3 separate regions of the Homo sapiens genome follow, and regions 2 and 3 are each linked to region 1. The links are contacts of gene promoters, found by promoter capture Hi-C in human tissues and cell types (Jung and others, 2019). All regions are on one chromosome and are shown on one strand. Each heading gives the region's core, a stretch centred on a gene start or on the middle of the fragment in contact. The rest is flanking DNA. Distances are from core to core; before and after follow the strand shown. Region 1 holds the start of SLC39A12 (solute carrier family 39 member 12). Region 2 overlaps SLC39A12 (solute carrier family 39 member 12). Region 3 overlaps SLC39A12 (solute carrier family 39 member 12).

The links. The method cuts DNA at HindIII sites, captures the fragments that hold promoters and counts their contacts. A contact is called where the count stands out against the background at its distance.
Region 2: a contact is called between a fragment that was not itself captured here and the fragment with the promoter of SLC39A12 in region 1, in 2 of the 25 tissues and cell types used here (dorsolateral prefrontal cortex and neural progenitor cells).
Region 3: a fragment that was not itself captured here is called in contact with the fragment with the promoter of SLC39A12 in region 1 in 2 of the 25 tissues and cell types used here (H1 embryonic stem cells and small bowel).

The regions. Positions count from the first base shown.
Region 1 is chr10:17,950,661-17,953,360 of GRCh38, reverse strand. SLC39A12 (solute carrier family 39 member 12) reads right to left here and starts at 1,443. Exons shown (of 13, transcript NM_001145195.2): 1 at 1,336-1,443; 2 at 1-170. The coding sequence starts at 84. The HindIII fragment of the contact is 7,346 bases long and covers 1-2,700 here.
Region 2 is chr10:17,986,072-17,988,771 of GRCh38, reverse strand. SLC39A12 (solute carrier family 39 member 12) reads right to left here. Exons shown (of 13, transcript NM_001145195.2): 7 at 1,121-1,293. Among named protein-coding and RNA genes, the nearest start is that of SLC39A12-AS1, 23 kb to the left of the region's middle. The HindIII fragment of the contact is 4,658 bases long and covers 1-2,700 here.
Region 3 is chr10:18,006,942-18,009,641 of GRCh38, reverse strand. All of the region lies in intron 12 of SLC39A12 (solute carrier family 39 member 12), which reads right to left. SLC39A12-AS1 (SLC39A12 antisense RNA 1) reads left to right here. Exons shown (of 5, transcript NR_038419.1): 3 at 959-1,092. Among named protein-coding and RNA genes, the nearest start is that of SLC39A12-AS1, 2.3 kb to the left of the region's middle. The HindIII fragment of the contact is 5,062 bases long and covers 1-2,700 here.

The sequences.
Region 1 (2,700 bases), core at 194-2,693:
TTTGTCTGTCTCAGTAGAAAAAACACGGCTGAGTAGAAGAAACAATGGCACCCAGGATACTGAGAGCTTTGTCCGGAAGCACATTTCCACGCTTCCTCCACCTTGAGTCTGTCTTGGATGGAGGTGAGTGTGTTGCCGTTTATGGGGTAAACTTGTAACCAAAGGAATTTCTGTGGTAAAGGGGAAAAATAAAGCCTTCAATTATTGTGCCTGCAACATGTTTGAAAGGATTCATTAATTGGGTGGCTAAGCTGATTTGCAATGACAAGCTGTTTCTACACAGCGGGGGTCTGTAGGTAATTTCTAACCCCAAATGGCAGGAAAGCACCATGGCTGTAGACTTTCAAACTGCACAGCAGCCAAAAAGCTTGCTAGATTCTCTCTCCCTAAACTAAACATAGCGTCACGTAAGTTTCTCCATTTACCAACAGGTGGTACAAGTTATAGGACCCAGGTTGGGAAACACCTTATGTTTATCCCATTATAAAGAACTCCAAGTGATTCATGGTCCTCATGAAAAAGAGAAAATAAATTCTACTAAATGACCAACATCATGTTGAGTTTAAAAGTTTTAGGCCAGGCGCGGTAGCTCACACCAGTAATCCCAGCACTTTGGGAGGCTGAAGCAGGCAGATCACGAGGTCAGGAGTTTGAGACCAGCCTGGCCAATATGGTGACACCCCCGTCTCTACTGAAAATACAAAAATTAGCCAGGTATGGTGGCACGTGCCTGTAGTCCCAGTTACATGGGAGGCTGAGGCAGAAGAATTGCTTGAACCCGGGAGGCGGGGGTTGCAGTGAGCCAAGATCGTGCCACTGCACTCCAGCCTGGGCGACAGAACAAGACTCCATCTCAAAAAAAAAAAAAAGAAAAAAGAAAAAAGAAAAAAAAAGAGTTTTAGACAAGGAAAAGCACTAGAAGAAAATAGTAATGTTCAGAAAACACAGGTCTTTTTTTTAGTTTACTAAGAATCAAGATTCTAGAGCAGGAAGCATCTTAGAAAAACAGAATTTCGAGACCTCAAGAACATGACACACACACACACACACACTCACTCAGTGGTGACTAAAGGAGTGGGGGATGACTTTAGAGCCAATCAACTTCCTGGAAAAAAAAATTATCTTTCTGTTGATGGCTTAAGGCATGTAAAATGTTAACAGCATCTCATGTCCGATCCTGGCCCAGAGATGAGCTGGTAAATGACTGTGGGCTAGTAACAAAGGTACTGGGATTACTTTTATGAGTTAAAAACAACAACAACACTTTAAGGTTGTTATGTTAGCAATTTAAAAGTGACAGAGGATGATGCAAGCATTTCTAACCCCAGTGCTTACCTTCAGAAGAAAGATAAACGATTCTTTATCTGGAGCTCCACAGCCTTTTAAATCCTGGAGAGTATTTCACAGTTACAAAGTTCCCTGTTTTTAAAATTCTTTGACTGTGCACTGGGAGCTAGAGAGGATTATTTCAGCCCAGAAAAGTTTTCAGTTGCTATGGAGAGAGCTGCTCTGAAGGTAACAATGAAGGTGGATAAAAGGGAGAACTTTCTGTCTGGTAGATTTTCAAGGTAATCAAATCAGTGTGGTTCATGAATTTAACTTTTTAGATCAAGAATTAACCAATTTTCTTAGGCTCACCTACTGTCACTTGCCTTTCAAGGGACAGAATCTAGGTCAAAGGATTTCACCTCGCAGAATAGAAAGACTTCAGTGTTAGATGAAGATTTTTTCCTCTCCAGTTGATTCTGTAATAACTGTTTCATCCAGGCTCAAACCAAAGATTTGTTGAAAAGATAGGCTCTTTGGAACCATATTTGTTTTGCAAGATGCAGAAGCCTAAAAGATTGAAGTCTTTCGTAATGAGATGCTTTCAAATGAAAAGTATTGGTTGAAGGAATGAAATTCTTACCAGGGATGTAGGTAGCATAAATGAGGAACTTTAATCAGCTGCATATATTGTGATCACCAGCACCGGTGGTAGTTCTTACATCAGATCCTTCATGCTCCTCAAAACAAAACCTCTCAACAAATTATTAGTGAATAAATGACTAAAGGAACAAAGTGGTTCATTTTCTAGGAAGCAAGAGAAGTTAAATCCTAAGATTTCAGAGTGGGCAGAATGCATGCCCACAGTATAGGGGTTTAAGTCAGCTGGTGGGCAGGTAGAGGAAATTTGAGATCAGGATGATTAGCCTCATCACTAATTGTATATGAAACACGGGAACCCTGCGGTAGGATATTCCTGAGAGAATGCTAGTAATGAGAGATGACAACTTGCTAGCAGCCCTGGCTCGCTCTTGGCGCCTCCTCAGCCTCAGCTTCAGCTCTCTCCGTCTTCAAGGAGCCCTTCAGCCCGCCGCTGCGCTGTGGGGGACCCTCTCTGGGGCTGGCCGAGGCCGGAGCCGGCTCCCTCTGCTTGCCGGGAGGTGTGGAGGGAGAGGCGTGGGCGGGAACTGGGGCTTGATCAGAGGCTGAATCCCGTGCGTGGACCAGAACGTTGGCCACGATGGCGGGTCTCCATCTCTTTCTTGCTTCCCGTCTTTTGCTCTTGATTGTCTGGGACGAGCTCCCTCTAGGCTGCTGGAGTGCCCGGGCTAGGTGCTCCGGATAGGTGCCACAAAGTCCCGTGGCTAGTGCCAGTGAGAGGTGAAGCCAGCTGGGCTTCTGGGATGGTGGGGACTTGGAGAACTTTTCTGTCTA
Region 2 (2,700 bases), core at 190-2,689, 35 kb before region 1:
CCACTTCTAGAGCGGACGCCGGAGCCAGGAGGGAGCTGGGCACAGATGCCACTGCCTCTCTCTCCTCCTCCTCTGAGTTTTCCATTGTGCCCCTCATTGGCTGACCCCAAACAAAAATCCAACCTGCAAGGTAGCTGAGGAGATGCAGCCTTCTGGGCAGAACAGAAAGAAGGACAAGTGAATTAGGCCATTTTTGTGTTGCTATAAAGAAATATCTGAGGCTGGATAACCTATAAAGAAAAGAGGTTTAATGGGCTCCTGGTTCTGCAGGGTGTACAGGAAGCATGGTGTCAGCATTTGCTTCTGATATGGGCCTCAGGAAGCTTCCAATCACAGTAGACAGTGAAGGGGAAGCAGGCACATCACATAATGAGAGAGAGAAAGCAAGAGAGAGGGAGACGGGGAGGTTCTGGACTTTTAAACAACCAGGTCTTGGGTGAACTAACTGAATGACAACTTTTTCTGAGACAGAGTCTCGCTCTGTCACCCATGCTGGAGTGCAGTGGTACGATCTTTGCTCACTGCAACCTTCGCCTCTCGAGTTCAAGCGATTCTCCTGTCTCAGCCTCCCGAGTAGCTAGGATTACAGACGCATGGCACTATGCCCAGCTAATTTTTATATTTTTAGTAGAGATGGGGTTTCACCATGCTGTCCAGGCTGGTCTCGAACTCCTGATCTCAAGTAATCCACCTGCCTTGGCCTCCCAAAGTGCTGGGACTACCGGTGCATGTAACATGTGCAGCTAATTTTTGTATTTTTAGTAGAGATGGGGTTCCACCACATCGGCCAGGCTGTTCTTGAGCTCCTGGGCTCCAGCGATCTTCCCGCCTCAGCCTTCCATGGTACTGGGATTACAGGTGTGAGCCACCGTGCCCTGCCACCTTTCCTTTGTTTTATTTCAAAAATACTACTACTATGTGGCGAGCCTAATGTTGGGGCATCTCTTCTCTTCTACAAGTGCAGAGAGGCCTTGGGGAAATAATATTTCTTTTTAAGGAAAACACCAGCCACGATACTCTCTCTTTGAAGTCTCAGTAAAATTTTGCATAAATACCTCCAGTGGTTAAAAGTGAAGAGCAATGAAGTGAACTTTATCTGAAATGGAAAAGACCAGATTACCTGAGGGATAAGGTGGAGCAGAGCGTCCCCAGACAGTGTCCCGACGGCCAAGCCCACAAACAGCTGTAAGATAAGCCTGTAGTTCTCCTCACAGCTATGGAAAAGGACCAGCGCTGTCCCCAGCATGGAGCCCAGTGTGAGAAGGGTGACAGCCACCGTGCTGTAGCCGTATTCTAAGTCAAAGGAGATCGTAAACACAGTCAGTGCCCAGTGCCCTCCATTCCGGCCTCAGCTGGCGAAAATGCCAGAAGAATTGGTCTTACAGTAACAGCCAGTAGGGATATGGATTTTTTAAATAAGTGTTTTGTTTTTATTTTGAGACAGGCTCTCTGTCTGTCACCCAGCCTGGAATGTAGTGGCACTATCATAGCTCTCTGTAGCCTCCACCTCCTAGGCTCAAGTGATCCTCCCACCTCAGCCTCCCAAGTACCTGGGACAACAGGTGCACACCATCATGCCTGACTCATTTTCTGGTATTTTTTGTTTGTAGAGATGGGGTTTCGTCATGTTCCCCAGGCTGGTCTCGAACTCCTGGACTCAAGCAATCCACTCGTCTCAGCCTCCCAAATGGCTGGGATTACAGTTGTAAGCCCACTGCCCCCAACTTGGAATTTTTAAATAAGCGTTTTGTTGTTTTTGTTGTTTTTGAGACAGGTTCTCACTCTGCTGCTCAAGCTGGGGTGGAGTGGTGTGATTATAGCTCACTATAATCCTGAACTCCCAGGCTCAAGTGATCTTCCCACATCAGACCCTCGAGCAGCTGGGACTACGGGCAGGTGCCATCAGGCCTGGCTAAGCTTTTATTTTTAGTAGAGATAGGGTCTCACTGTATTACCTGGGCTAGTCTCAAGCTCCTGGGCTCAAGCAATCCTCCTGCTTCACCTCCCAAAGTGATGGGATTACAGGCATAAGCCACAGCACCCAGTCTTATAAGTGTTATATGCGGCAAAAAGTTTTTAAATTTTTAACAAAAAGAATGAACAGATTTGCTATGGTCTAAATGTTTGTGTCTCCGCAAAATTCACATGTTGAAACCTAACCACCAAGGTGGTGGGTGGTATTAGGAAGTGAGGCCTTTGGGAGGTGATTAGAACATATACTCTTCACCCCTGTTGAATGGGATTAGGGTCTTTACAGGGGCTAAAGGGACTGGAGTTCTTCCCTTCACCAGTCCATGAACCAGGAACGAGACCCTCACCAGATGCCGAATCTGCTGATGCCTTGATCTTGGACTTCCCAACCTCCAGAACTGTGAGAAATAGATGTCTGTTGTTTACATAAGCCATCCGTTTGTGGTATTTTGTTACAGCAAGGACTAAGACAAGACTTTCTTCAAATAACCGTGTTGTTTTGAAGTTACTCTGACTACCCCTTACTAAAAATTATTGCAGCAAGCAAGGACTGAGCTCACCTCCAACCCTCAAAGAAATAAATTTCTCTCACTTGAAACTACAACATCCACAGACAGACACTAGCAATAATTTCCCTTTAATCATATCTTAAGCTTCTCAAAGGCGAAAAGACTAGCTGTTACATAGGAAGCATAAGGTTTGGCAGTATTGTAGACCTATGTTTGTGTA
Region 3 (2,700 bases), core at 82-2,581, 56 kb before region 1:
ATTCTTGAGGTTCCTGCTCCCCCCAATCCCCTGCCTGCAAAGTTATTAGATAAGTAAAATAAGGTTGAAGAAACATAAGGGATAGTCTTGGAGAGGAAATGAAGTTTTTAAAGAGCATCCAAAAAACGTGAGGGTGGGGGAAGAGATCTAGAACCCTATATGGTGAGGGAGGTTGATGGGGGAAGAGGGTTTGAAATTGGATATTTCCCCTATTCCAATTCATTTGCCTTGGATACACCTGGAGGGGGCACCTGGGCTATGTTTTATTTTGTTTTGGCATGAATTGGACAGGTACTTCCTTCTCCATTAGCTCCCTCCCTAAGTTACAGCTCCTCCATCAGCTTGGGTTCTATTAATGTACTAAATTCCTGGGCAGTTGTCCAGTTCCCCCCATTGTAGGGACATCTCTAGTTACATCTACAGTGATAGCCCCTTGAGGTTTCTATAGTCCTGTTGCTATGGAAACACCATTTTGGCAGGATCTAAAAACCCTAGGAAAAATGCCTAAAGGTTTGAAACATTGCTTCAGATCCAAAATAAACCCTCCCTTGGCATAACCCATTTACATTTTTTTAATTAATTAATTTATGCTTTAAATAACAAATTATATTAGTTAAAAATAAAGTCTCTCTTATCCAAACGCTGGAAAAAGACAATACTTTGAGGGCTTTTTTTTCTATTTGAGCAATTTTTATAAACTTTAGAGAAGCTGGATTTAAGAAATCCTCTAGATTTCCAATTCTGAGAATTTTCTTAGGCGGAACATTCAGCTCTCAGACAAAATGAGATGCTCTTACACAGCTGCAAGAAAGTAAAGAGAAAATTAAATGCAAAGTAAGAAGGAAGGAAATAATGGCGATTAGGAGAGAAACAGTACCAAATTATAAAGCAATTGATAGATAGGTATTGCTAGTTTTTTCACTTGGTGTATTTATGCTCCCTGTTCCTGTAAACTTAGGTACTGTCAGACCACAGATCCCTGTTCCTGGGGAGAATGCACCAGGGAATACAAGAAAGTAGTGGTCCACAACCTTTTTGGCACCAGGGACTGGTTTCATGGAAGACAATTTTTCCGTGGACCGACGGTTGGAGGTGAGGGTGATAGTTTCAGGATGATTCAAGCACATTACATTGGTTGTGTACTTTATTTCTATTATTATTACATTGTAATATATAGTGAAATAATTATGCAACTCACCATAATATTGAATCAGTGGGGGGCCCTAAGCTTGTTTTCCTGCAACTAGTCGGCCCCATCTGGAGGTGATGGGAGATAGTGACCAATCATCAGGCATTAGATTCTCATAAGGAGTGTGCAACCTAGATCCCTCACATGCGCAGTTCACAATAAGGTTCACGCTCCTGTGAGAACCTAATGCCCCCGCTGATCTGACAGGAGGCGGAGCTCAGGTGAGCAATGCAGAGCGGCTGTAAGTACAGATGAAGCTTCGCTTGCTCACCTGCCGCTCACCTCCTACTGTGCGGCCTCGTTCCTAACAGGACCAGGGGTTGAGAACTCCTGCAATAAAGTTTCCAGTCAACTTGAAACTATCACTACCACTTGCTCATTTGGGGCTCCCTATATTAGTGGATCAACCAACAGTGAAGAAAGTTACTATAATGGTAAGAGTAATTGTTAGTGATTATGTCAGAGGCATGTGAACAAGAGTAATCCATCTTGAATAGGAGCTGGGTAAAATGAGGCTGAGGCCTACTGGGCTGCATTCCCAGACAGTTAAGGCATTCTACATCACAGGAAGAGAGAGGAGGTCAGCAAAAGATACAGGTCATAAAGACCTTGCTGACAAAACAGTTTGCAGTAAGGAAACCAGCAAAGTCTCACCAAAACCAAAACGGCAATGAGAGTGACCTCTGGTCATCCTCACTGCTACACTCCCACCAGTGCCATGACAACTTACAAATGCCAGGGCAATGTCAGGACATTACCCCATATGGTCTAAAAAGGGGGGGGAATGAATAATCCAACCCTTGTTTAGCATATCATGAAGAAATAACCATGAAAATGGGCAACCAGCAGCAATGGGGTTGCTCTGTCTATGGAGTAGCCATTCTTTTATCCTTTTACTTTCTTAATAAACTTGTTTTTTCTTTGCACTGTGGACTCTCTCTGAATTCTTTCTTGCACAAGATCCAAGAACCCTCTCTTGGGGTCTGGATTAGGACTCCTTTCCTATAACAGTTACCATGAGGAGTTAGGGGTGCTGCTGCATGGTGAGGAGAGAAGGAACACAGCTACAAATTCAGATTTCTTGGAGCATCTCTTGGTGCTTCTTGATGCCTGGTAACAATGGTCACCAGGCAACTAGAGGATACACAGCCTAACAAGGACAAAGCAGTGAACATTCAGATCCTTCATTGAAGACCTAAGTTGCCCCTCCCAGGGTTGGGTTGATGTAGATCAACCCAAGTGCTGCCTGGAGCTAAGGAGGATCAGGATTGGATGCTGGAGAGCAGAGATGAAGAATATCAACTATGGCCTCAGGGCCAGCAGGGTTTGGAGCTTCTTCCACTTATTGTTTTCTATGAAGTCTTTGTGGTATTTTGGCTGGCTACCACCACGAAGGGACTTGGGGAGAGATGGGTGTTAAGAGGAAAGGAGGGCATTTGAGGAGTGGAAGGGGCCAACCGTTAATGGACATCACACGTGTGCTATTTCAGATGCACTCAGCCCCATCTCTG